Regions from separate parts of the Homo sapiens genome. Here region 2 is linked to region 1. Evidence: promoter capture Hi-C in 16 types of primary human blood cells and fetal thymus (Javierre and others, 2016). All regions are on one chromosome and are shown on one strand. The core of a region is centred on a gene start or on the middle of the fragment in contact, and the rest is flanking DNA. Distances in the headings are between cores, read along the strand shown. Region 1 holds the start of KLHL8 (kelch like family member 8). Region 2 overlaps AFF1 (ALF transcription elongation factor 1).

What was found. Contacts are between HindIII fragments. The CHiCAGO score rates a contact against its expected background, and 5 or more counts as called.
Region 2: a contact is called between a fragment that was not itself captured here and the fragment with the promoter of KLHL8 in region 1, in 1 of 17 cell types (naive CD8 T cells). The highest score is 5.3, in naive CD8 T cells.

Annotation. Positions count from the first base shown.
Region 1 is chr4:87,217,865-87,222,540 of GRCh38, forward strand. KLHL8 (kelch like family member 8) reads right to left here and starts at 2,754. Exons shown (of 10, transcript NM_020803.5): 1 at 2,554-2,754. RefSeq lists an enhancer at 1,756-2,368 and silencers at 1,874-2,143, 2,484-2,973. The HindIII fragment of the contact is 8,812 bases long and covers 1-4,658 here.
Region 2 is chr4:86,950,053-86,954,728 of GRCh38, forward strand. All of the region lies in intron 2 of AFF1 (ALF transcription elongation factor 1), which reads left to right. It also overlaps the pseudogene TECRP1. Among named protein-coding and RNA genes, the nearest start is that of AFF1, 17 kb to the left of the region's middle. The HindIII fragment of the contact is 5,877 bases long and covers 1-4,244 here.

The sequences.
Region 1 (4,676 bases), core at 1,504-4,003:
TATAAAACACAAAAACTATCTGAAATTAATGTTTAAGATGTCTGCAATAGTCTCTTTAATCTTTTTAAAATGACAATATCCATTTCAGTTCTCTACAACTCTCAAAAGTTCTTGATAAAAACAAAAGGGTTATTTGTCCAAACCCACAGAATGTTTAACACCAAGAATGAATCCTAACTGTGGATGTGATAACATGTCAATGTAGGTTCATCAATTGTAATATACGTACCACTCTGATGAGAGATTTTGGCTCTGTAGGGGTAGGCGATACATGGGAAATCTCTATACCTTCCACTCAGTTTTGTTGTGAACTTACAACTGCTCTAAAAAAGAAAATTCATTTTTCAAAATAGCAGGTGGGATCAAAATTTACCCAACTTTTTTTTTTTTTTTAGATGGAGTCTCGTTCTATTGCCAGGCTGGAGTGCAGCTGCGTGATCTCAGCTCACTTCCACCTCCCAGGTTCAAGTGATTCTCGTGTCTCTGGGACTACAGGCATGCGCCACCATGCCCAGCTAATTTTTTTGTATTTTTAGTAGAGATGGGGTTTCACCATGTTGGCCAGGATGGTCTTGATCTCCTGACCTCTTGATCCGCCCGCCTCGGCCTCCCAAAGTGTTGGGATTACAGGCGTGAGCCACCGCGCCCGGCCCTAACTTTCTTCTTAATGAATGAAGAAATACTGTTTTTAAAAAATAACCCTCACTGAATGTGAACTGAGTTTCTTGTCAAAAAATGTGCAATTATTACAGAATATATCATCTTAACCAATTATCAGTAATCTTATCAAATGCTAAAAGAATTGGCAGCTTTAAAAATTAAAATGATGAAGCTAAGTGCTCATATGTAGTTGAATAGAGTATCCTTAGACTTTTTTTTTCTTTTTTTGAGATGGAGTCTCACTCTGTCGCCCAGGCTGGAGCGCAGTGGCATGATCTCGGTTCACTGCAACCTCCGCCTCCCGGGTTCAAGCCATTCTCCTGTCTTAGCCTCTCGAGTAGCTGAGACTACAGGCATGTGCCACCACGCTCAGCTAATTTTTGTTATTTTTAGTAGAGATGGGGTTTCACCATGTTGGCCAGACTGGTCTCGAAAATCCTGACCTCAAGTGATCCCCCCGCCTCAATCTCCCAAAGTGCTGGGATTACAGGCGTGAGCCACTGCACCCGGCCCCTGAGACACCTCTTTTTATATTTAGGCTTACGCAATTTTGGTATCTTGAAAGCAATTTTTTTAAAAAGTGACGAAATAAATAAAGTGACTAAAAGTTTGAAGTTTGAACTGGGTCAGTTTGACAAATTAAGAAGGGTGCCAGGAGGAAGTCTGAGGAAAAGCAGCAGCTTAATGCCACCGCCATCTCCAAGCAGCGTTCCAGGCGCCAGCACTGTTAGCAGCAGTCCTCTGCGTACCCAAGAGTACCGCAGGGCCAGAACACGAGAAAGATGCGCGAAGAGGATTTCCTTCTAGAGAGAGAATAAAGAACACCAAGAGTCCAACAATTACCATCTTGTATAGGAGAAAAACAATGCAAAGGAAAAAACGTGCAACCAGCAGATAAAATACTTATGTCAACCCAGGTTCTAAGGACCTTTTCCCAAAGTATCCCTCTAAACTGGTAACATTAGCTTAGGGCAGAGTCAAGAAGAAAGTTATGCCATTAACACAGATGAAAATACTGAACGTTTTCTATGAAAAGTCACCCGATTAAACACTGCCAAGAGGGAAAAACAGTGCAAGTCCAGTAAAGCACGAGACACGTAGAAAATTCAAGCTATGTAGCCAAATCGCTCTCTCTGAAGAAAACAGCAAGCCAACTGAACCCAGCACGGAGTGGAAGGCGTAAAGAGCTGTCATCGTGGCGGTAACAACTCCACCGGGCGGCTGAGCGTCTAGAAAGAGGCTGCGGTTCCTGGTTCCACATCAGGAGGCACTCTCCACAAGGTCTACACCGCCGCTCCCGGGAAGGCACCTCCAGGGCGGCCAGCAAGCCCCCCGAGTGGGGACAGGCAGTGCCTTCCTCGCCTCGTCCCCGCGCGGCGTGGCCCGGAGGTGGCCCACTCGCCCCGCCCCCGCAGGCCGCGGCTCCAGGGGGCGTCCGGCCGCCCTCCCGGGGCCCCGAACCCGCGCCAGCCGCACCGCGCCTGCCCTCTTCCTGGACCCCGCGAAGCACCTGCCTGGGCCCCTCTTCGAAAGACTGGGAGGAAGGAGTCAAGGAGCTGCCGGGGAGGCTGACAGAGCCAGAGGCTGGAGCTCCCCTACGGGAGCCGGGAGCATAACCCTGCTCCTCCCGCCAATGGGGGCGACAAAAGCCGTGGAAGGTTGCTCAGGGGCTGGATCTCCTGCTGTCCGGGCCCCAAGCCCTCTCAGCTGTGGAGTTTCGGTTGGTGCACGAGGGCTCGAATTTCCTCCGCACACCGGAGACCCAAGACGGGACGGTGTTGCGACTTGGGGGCTGGGGTGAGGGAGGGCTCGGCGCGAGCGGACGGCACCGCACAAAGGAAGAGGGGACTGAGGGGAGACGAGGGGACTGAGGGGAGACGAGCGTCCCGTTACCTCGATCCTCGACCCTGTTCTTCCTGATGTCGCTAAGGTTGCAGCCACGTTACCACGCTCCCAGAGCCCCGGCCGCCCTCAGCGGAACCTCACCAACCCCGCGCGAGCACCCGGCGGACGCGCGCTCTCCTGCGCGGCCCCGCGGAGCCCCGGCGGGCGCTTGGCGTCCTCTCGCCTCAGCCCCCGCGAGCCGCGGCCTCTGGGGGCGGGGCGGGCTGGGCGGGGCTGCGCACGGCACTCTGGGAAGTGTGGTTCTCGGGACCTCCTCCCCGAGGCCACCCCCACGGCCTCGCCCCCGCGGCTCCCTAGTGGGCGGCCGGGTCTCAGGGACTGGGCAGTGTTGCCCGGCCTGGTGAAGGCGGACCAGGGCGTGGCGGAGGTCCCCATAACAAATCTTGAAATAAAACACTGCCTAAATACCTTTGAGCTTATCCATGCTTCACTTCTGCGGCGGTACAAAATTTAGTTTCTTTGTATGTCCATCAAATCCCCTTCTGCGGTTGTGAGTGTTCCTGGGATTTATGTCTTTGAAAAAAGAAGGGGAAAAAAAGGTTTGCATTTATTCCTGTGTCACTTTCACCACGTGCTCTACAAAGGATATACAAAACAACTGTGTTTATAAATACACACCCACAGTTTGTAAACCTAAGGAAGCAGTTGATTGACCTGAGAGCTCGCTGCTAAAAAGCAGTGCAAGTGGCCATGCGCGGTGGCTCACGCCTGTAATCCCAGCACTTTGGGAGGCTGAGGCGGGCGCATCACGAGGTCAGGAGTCGAGACCATCCTGGCCAACATGGTGAAACTCCGTCTGTACTAAAAATACAAAAATTAGCTGGGCGTGGTTGTGCGTGCCACCAATCCCAGCTATTCGCAAGGCTGAGGCAGGAGAATTGCTTGAACCCGGGAGTCGGAGGTTGCAGTGAGCTGAGATTGTGCCATTGCACTCCAGCCTGGCGACAGAGCAAGACTCCGTCTAAAAAAAAAAAAAAAAAAAAAAAAAGCAATGCAAGTAAAAGTGCTGTTGAAATGAATTAATTTTTCTATAATGTCAATAAAGTGGAATGTGTGAGGCGGGAGATCAAGAGACAGCAAAAAAACAAAATTTTTTTTAAAGAAAGATATTCCCCTAAATGTGTCTTTTGCCAGACTAACCTCAAACTTTCACAATCCTAGGAGTCTATTTCAGAATAAATTTAATCCTAGGACCTTTATTAATATTAACACATATGAACATTAGCACATTGATTTTAATAGAAATGAACATATATATATCTGTATATATATATGCATCTTCTATAAAAACCCCAAAGCAACTATTTGAATTTGAAATTTTATTTCTAGAAAAAAAATCACATTTTTTACATTGAAATATAAATAATTCTTAATATTTCAAAATATTCCTCTTTAGAGCATTAGTATTTTGCACATTTAATGCAAATACCTTTAGAAAAATAGAGTAAGATGAGTTTTAAAGAAGTATGCAGTGAAGAAAAGTCATAAAATGTGTCTGGAACGTGATGTAAAAATTGTTGGGACTCAGAAATCGATACCCCAAAATATGGTGCTTTGCCGCGCTGAACTGAGGAAGCAGCTTCAAGGTGTCTCTTACCTTCCCCATTACCCCTCCTGCCTCTCAATTCTTTGTCTCTCCCAAAGCACCAAATGATGTCGTTCTCTGAATTTCCCTTATCTGCCTAGAAACTAGACCTGCCAAAGAGGAACATATTTGCCTTACCTGATTTTTCATTTACTTAACTCATATTGGAGGAAGAAAGACTGAAGTCTGTCAACACTCTTGGACAGACTTTTGTCACAAACTATTGTCTGCTGTATGGGCTCAACACACTTTTTCCCAGGCCATTGTATGTTCCCCATTTTCCCCTAAAAGTCCTTTACTATACCTTAAGTTGCCACATTTCCCCAATCTCCCTTTCCCCCATAAAGAAGAGTATATAAACGTCTCTACCCCATTGAGTCATTGGGTAATCATTCTCCTGAAATCTCCCTGTGTTATGCACATTAAAATAAATTTTGTATGTCTTTTTTCCTATTAGTCTGCCATTTGACAGTTGATTTTTCAGTGAACCTTCCAAGGGAAAAGGGAAAGCTTCCCTGTATTCCCT
Region 2 (4,676 bases), core at 56-2,555, 270 kb before region 1:
ATTGATGTAATAGGCCATCCACGCGGCGAAGCCCCAGTAGTAGGTGCAGTTCTGAAAGGGAGCAGGGCAGGGATGGGACTTGGGCCAGCACCGGACAAGGCAGATGCTGCCCATGTCTCATCCCGAGGTATTATTATTTTTTTAAGACAAAGTTTCGCTATTGTTGCCCCGGCTGGAGTGCAGTGCCATGATCTTGGCTCACTGCAACCTCTGCCTCCCGGGTTCAAGGGATTCCCCTGCCTCAGCCTCCCAATTAGCTGGGACTACAGGCGCATGCCCCGACACCTGGCTAATTTTTGGTAGAGACGGGGTTTCACCATGTTGGCAGGCTGGCCCCGAATTCCTAACCTCAGGTGATCCACCTGCCTTGGCCTCCCAAAGTGCTGGGATTACAGGCGTGAGCCGCTGTGCCCAGCCATAATTTCTATTTATAATAGAATTCTTTTCCCACTTCTTGCTACTGCATTTCACTAGTCTAAAAAATAAAAACATTATAAGAAATGTAGACTCAGACTTATTTATAATGCAACAGAATAGATGATGGTGCCTGCAATTGTGGACCATCCCAAATGTTCTCCTACTTCTCCCCCTTTCTGGTTCATTTAGGAAATTATTCAATTCCTGGTCATCATTGTGGGCTGCTAAACTTGGTTTACTCTCTCCCCTCACCAAAGGGAAGACAGTTAGTTGACCCTGGCTGCTGCAGTTCACATTCTGCTAGAGCCTGGGGGAAAGCTGTTGTCATTTGTCTTTAGGTTTATTCATAATGTTGGGTTTACACATACGTTTTACATTTTTATGTAGTTAAATGTCTTGTCCTTTATGGGTTCTGGCTTGATTGTGCTTAGAAAGGTCTTTCCTCCTCCAAGATTGTGAAAATAATGTCATGTGTTCTTTGCTGGCACTTGTACGATTTCATTTTTGCATTTAAATCAGAACTTGTAAGCTGGTGGACTGTGGGACAGATCTGGTCAACATATGGGTTTTGGTTAGCCTGTCACGGAATTCTGAAAGAAATTATCTGCCAGTGTTTTTTACATAACAATCTTCTATCTTCTCATGAAAAATGTAAGATTTAGCAACCCTGGGCTTGCATTGTCATATAGCAATGCTCAGAAAGAATTGAATAGCTTCGGCTCTTTTAAGCGGAACACAGGCTTTCTAATTCAGAACTTCCCAATTGGTGTGCCATCAAATGCTTTTCAGGTGTGCCACGATGTTGATTCCCCGCCCCCCAGCCTAAAGGTCAGCCAGAGCTCCTATCTAATTTCCTCCTGCAGACATCATCTGCTTTGTCCGTTTGCCCCAGAGACTTGATGTCACAAAAAAAAAAAATTGAGAAAGCACTGACGCTTTTCAATTCGTTACAGTTCTCTGCACAGCCAGATTCACACATTTAGTTAGCTGCTTGACCCTCTTAACTTGCAACCCATTTTACATCTTTGACTTTTTAGTATTTTGATCCACATGTAGTTAACTTGAATATATATTGTACATTTCATATTAATAGGAAAAGGTAAAGATGGGGGATGTTAGGGAACTTTTTTTTCTTTTTCTTTTTTCTTTTTTTCTTTTTTTTTTTTTTTTTTGAGACGGAGTCTCCCTCTGTCACCAGGCTGAAGTGCAGTGGCATGATCTTGGCTCACTACAACCTCCACCTCCAGGTTCAAGCAATTCTCCTGCCTCAGCCTCCTGAGTAGCTGGGACTACAGGCACACCATGCCCAGCTAATTTTTGTATTTTTAGTAGAGACGGGTTTCACCATGTTGGCCAGGATGGTCTCGATATCTTGACCTCATGATCTGCCCGCCTTGGCCTCCCAAAGTGCTGGGATTACAGGCGTGGGCCACCACATCTGGCTGGGAACCTTTTTTTTTTTTTTTTTAAAGCAAAAAGCTAGACAATTGTTTCATCATTTTTTATTAAATCACCTGTCTTTTCTCCACAGATACAAATGCTATGTCTAAATTTTATCACAGTCTTGGGTCTGTTGTTGGGCTGTCTTTTGCTCCATTGATGTGTCTTTTGGCAACTGTGGCATATTGTTTCACTGTATCTTTATATGTCATAATATTGAGGCAGATTCTTTGTAATTCTTGTTTTTAGAATTTTCATAGCTATTCATTCTCATGCTTCTCAGTGTATTCTGAAGTCATTCATCATTTTCTAGAAAATTTATGATTGGCATTTTGATTGGAATCCCTTGGAATTCATCAGTTAGAGTTGACTACTGTAGGCTATTAAAACGTCTTCCTATAAGAATGTAGATATCAGACTGGTGAAAATTTAAGGAGCTGAAGTAATTTTAAATTTTAATTGTAAGATTTTCGTGGAGGTGATTTTTCAAAAAGGTTTAGTTACTGATGTTGGTTCCTGTGTTATTTCTGGTAGATGAATCAATTATATTAGGTAAAAGTATTATCATTGGCATGATTAAAAAGATGTTTTAGCTTAAAACCTAAATGATGGGTTGATAGGTACAGCAAGCCACCACAGCATGTGTATACAACCTGCATGTTCTGCACATGTATGTAACAAACCTGCATGTTCTGCACGTGTGTTTAACAAACCTGCATGTTCTGCACATGTATCCCAGGACTTAAAGTAAAAAAAAACAAAAAAACAAAAACACAACTTTTTTTTTTTTTTTTTTTGAGATGGAGTCTCACTCTGTCCCTCAGGCTGGAGTGCAGTGGCGTGATCTTGGCCCCTCTGCCTCCCGGGTTCAAGCGTTTCTCCTGCCTCAGCCTCCTGAGTAGCTGGCACTACAGGCACCCACCACCACGCCCGGCTACTTTTTGTATTTTGTATTTTTTATTTATTTATTTATTTTCAGTAGAGATGTGGTTTCACCATATTGTCCAGGCTGGTCTCAAACTCCTGACCTTGTGTTCCCCTCCACCCCCACTACCCACCCCCACCTTCAGCCTCCCAAAGTGCTAGGATTACAGGCCTGAGCCATGGCGCCCAGCAAAAAGAAAAAAGATACTTTATATTCTATGACATATTTTTTTTGTTTTGCTAGTTATTAAGTTTGGATGGGTAACTGCCCCTTATAGTAACATTCTAGCAATTACAGAGCTGTTTTTATTATTTGTTACTTTTATCATAATTTCTAGCTCCTCACCTCCTCAATATGCTCCTTTTAGTTTTAGTACCTACTACAAGTGGTAAGTTTGGGGATATCCTTTAAAAAGCTCTATTTTTAATACACACCAGTAGCTCACTTGTTTAAATGTTTAATCATGATAGGTATTTAATCTTTTATTTGCCCAGAAAAAAACATTAAATTCATGTGGAACTGGTCCAGGACTAGGATATATTTGCAAAGGAAACAGATGTGTATTGAGTACGCAGCTCTAATCATTCAAACTAAATTGAAGTCTGAACGTGAACCCTTACTTTGCTCAGGGCTATCAAAAGTCATAAGCGTGGACAGAATATTAATGTAATGTGCAAAGACAATGTTTTAGTTCTTACAAATAATGAGCTTATTCTGTGACTTCCAGATTTATCGGCACTTGACACTGTTGAATTTGAGCTCACTTATATTTCTTCACCTTCCTTCCGTCCCCCTTTTTAATAGTTCTTTCTAAAAATTGTTATTGGAGTCTAACAGACTGAAAAAGGCAGACATTATTAGTACAGTTTAGTGCATTTTCTTTTCTTTTTTCTTTTTTTTTTGAGATGGAGTTTTGCTCTTGTCGCCCAGGCTGGAATGCAATGGCGCGATCTCGGCTCACTGGAACCTCCATCTCCTGGGTTCAAGCGATTCTCCTGCTTCAGCCTCCCGAGTAGCTGGCGCACCACCACGCCCAGCTAATTTTTGTACGTTTTTAGTAGAGACGGGGTTTCACCATGTTGGCCAGGCTGGGCTCAAACTCCTGACCTTAGGTGATCTACCTGCCTCGGCCTCTCAAAGTGCTGGGATTACAGGCGTGAGCCACCGTGCCCGGCCTAGTTCAGTGCATTTTCATAAAGTGAACACATGTAACAGATTAAGACCAGCTGTCTAGAACTCCTCTCCTTTCCCCTTTCAGCTACTACCTCCCTTAAAAGTCATCACTGTTCTGACTTGTAACACCCTGCATTTGTTTTGTCTGCTTTTCAATTTGATTTAAATATAATCATATAGCATATACTCCTTTATAAAGTTTCCATTCATTTTGATGTTTGTATTAGTTAACCTTCAAACACTGTGAGGTTTAGGGGTAAAATATCTACATGACTTTTGGCTCCCTAAAAGCTTAACTACTAATTAGCCTACAGTTGACTGGAAGCCTTATGAATAACATAAACAGCTGATTAACACATATTTTGATATGTATTAAGTAGTGTATTCTTACAATAAAGTAAGCTAGAGAAAAGAAAATGTTATTAAAATCATTTCTAGGCATGGTGGCTAATGCCTGTAATCCCAGCACTTTGAGAGGCTGAGGTGGGCAGACTGCTTGAGTCCAGGAATTCATTCGAGACCAGCCTGGGCAACATGGTTAAACCCTGTCTCTACAAAAAATACAAAAATTAGCCACCTGTAGTCCCAGCTACTGACAGGGGTCCAGGTGGGGTAAAGGCCTGAGGTGGGAGGATTGCTTGAGCCTGGAAGGTCAAGGCTGTGGTGAGCCAAGATTGCACCACTGCACTCCAGCCTGGGTGACAGAGCAAGACCCTGTCTC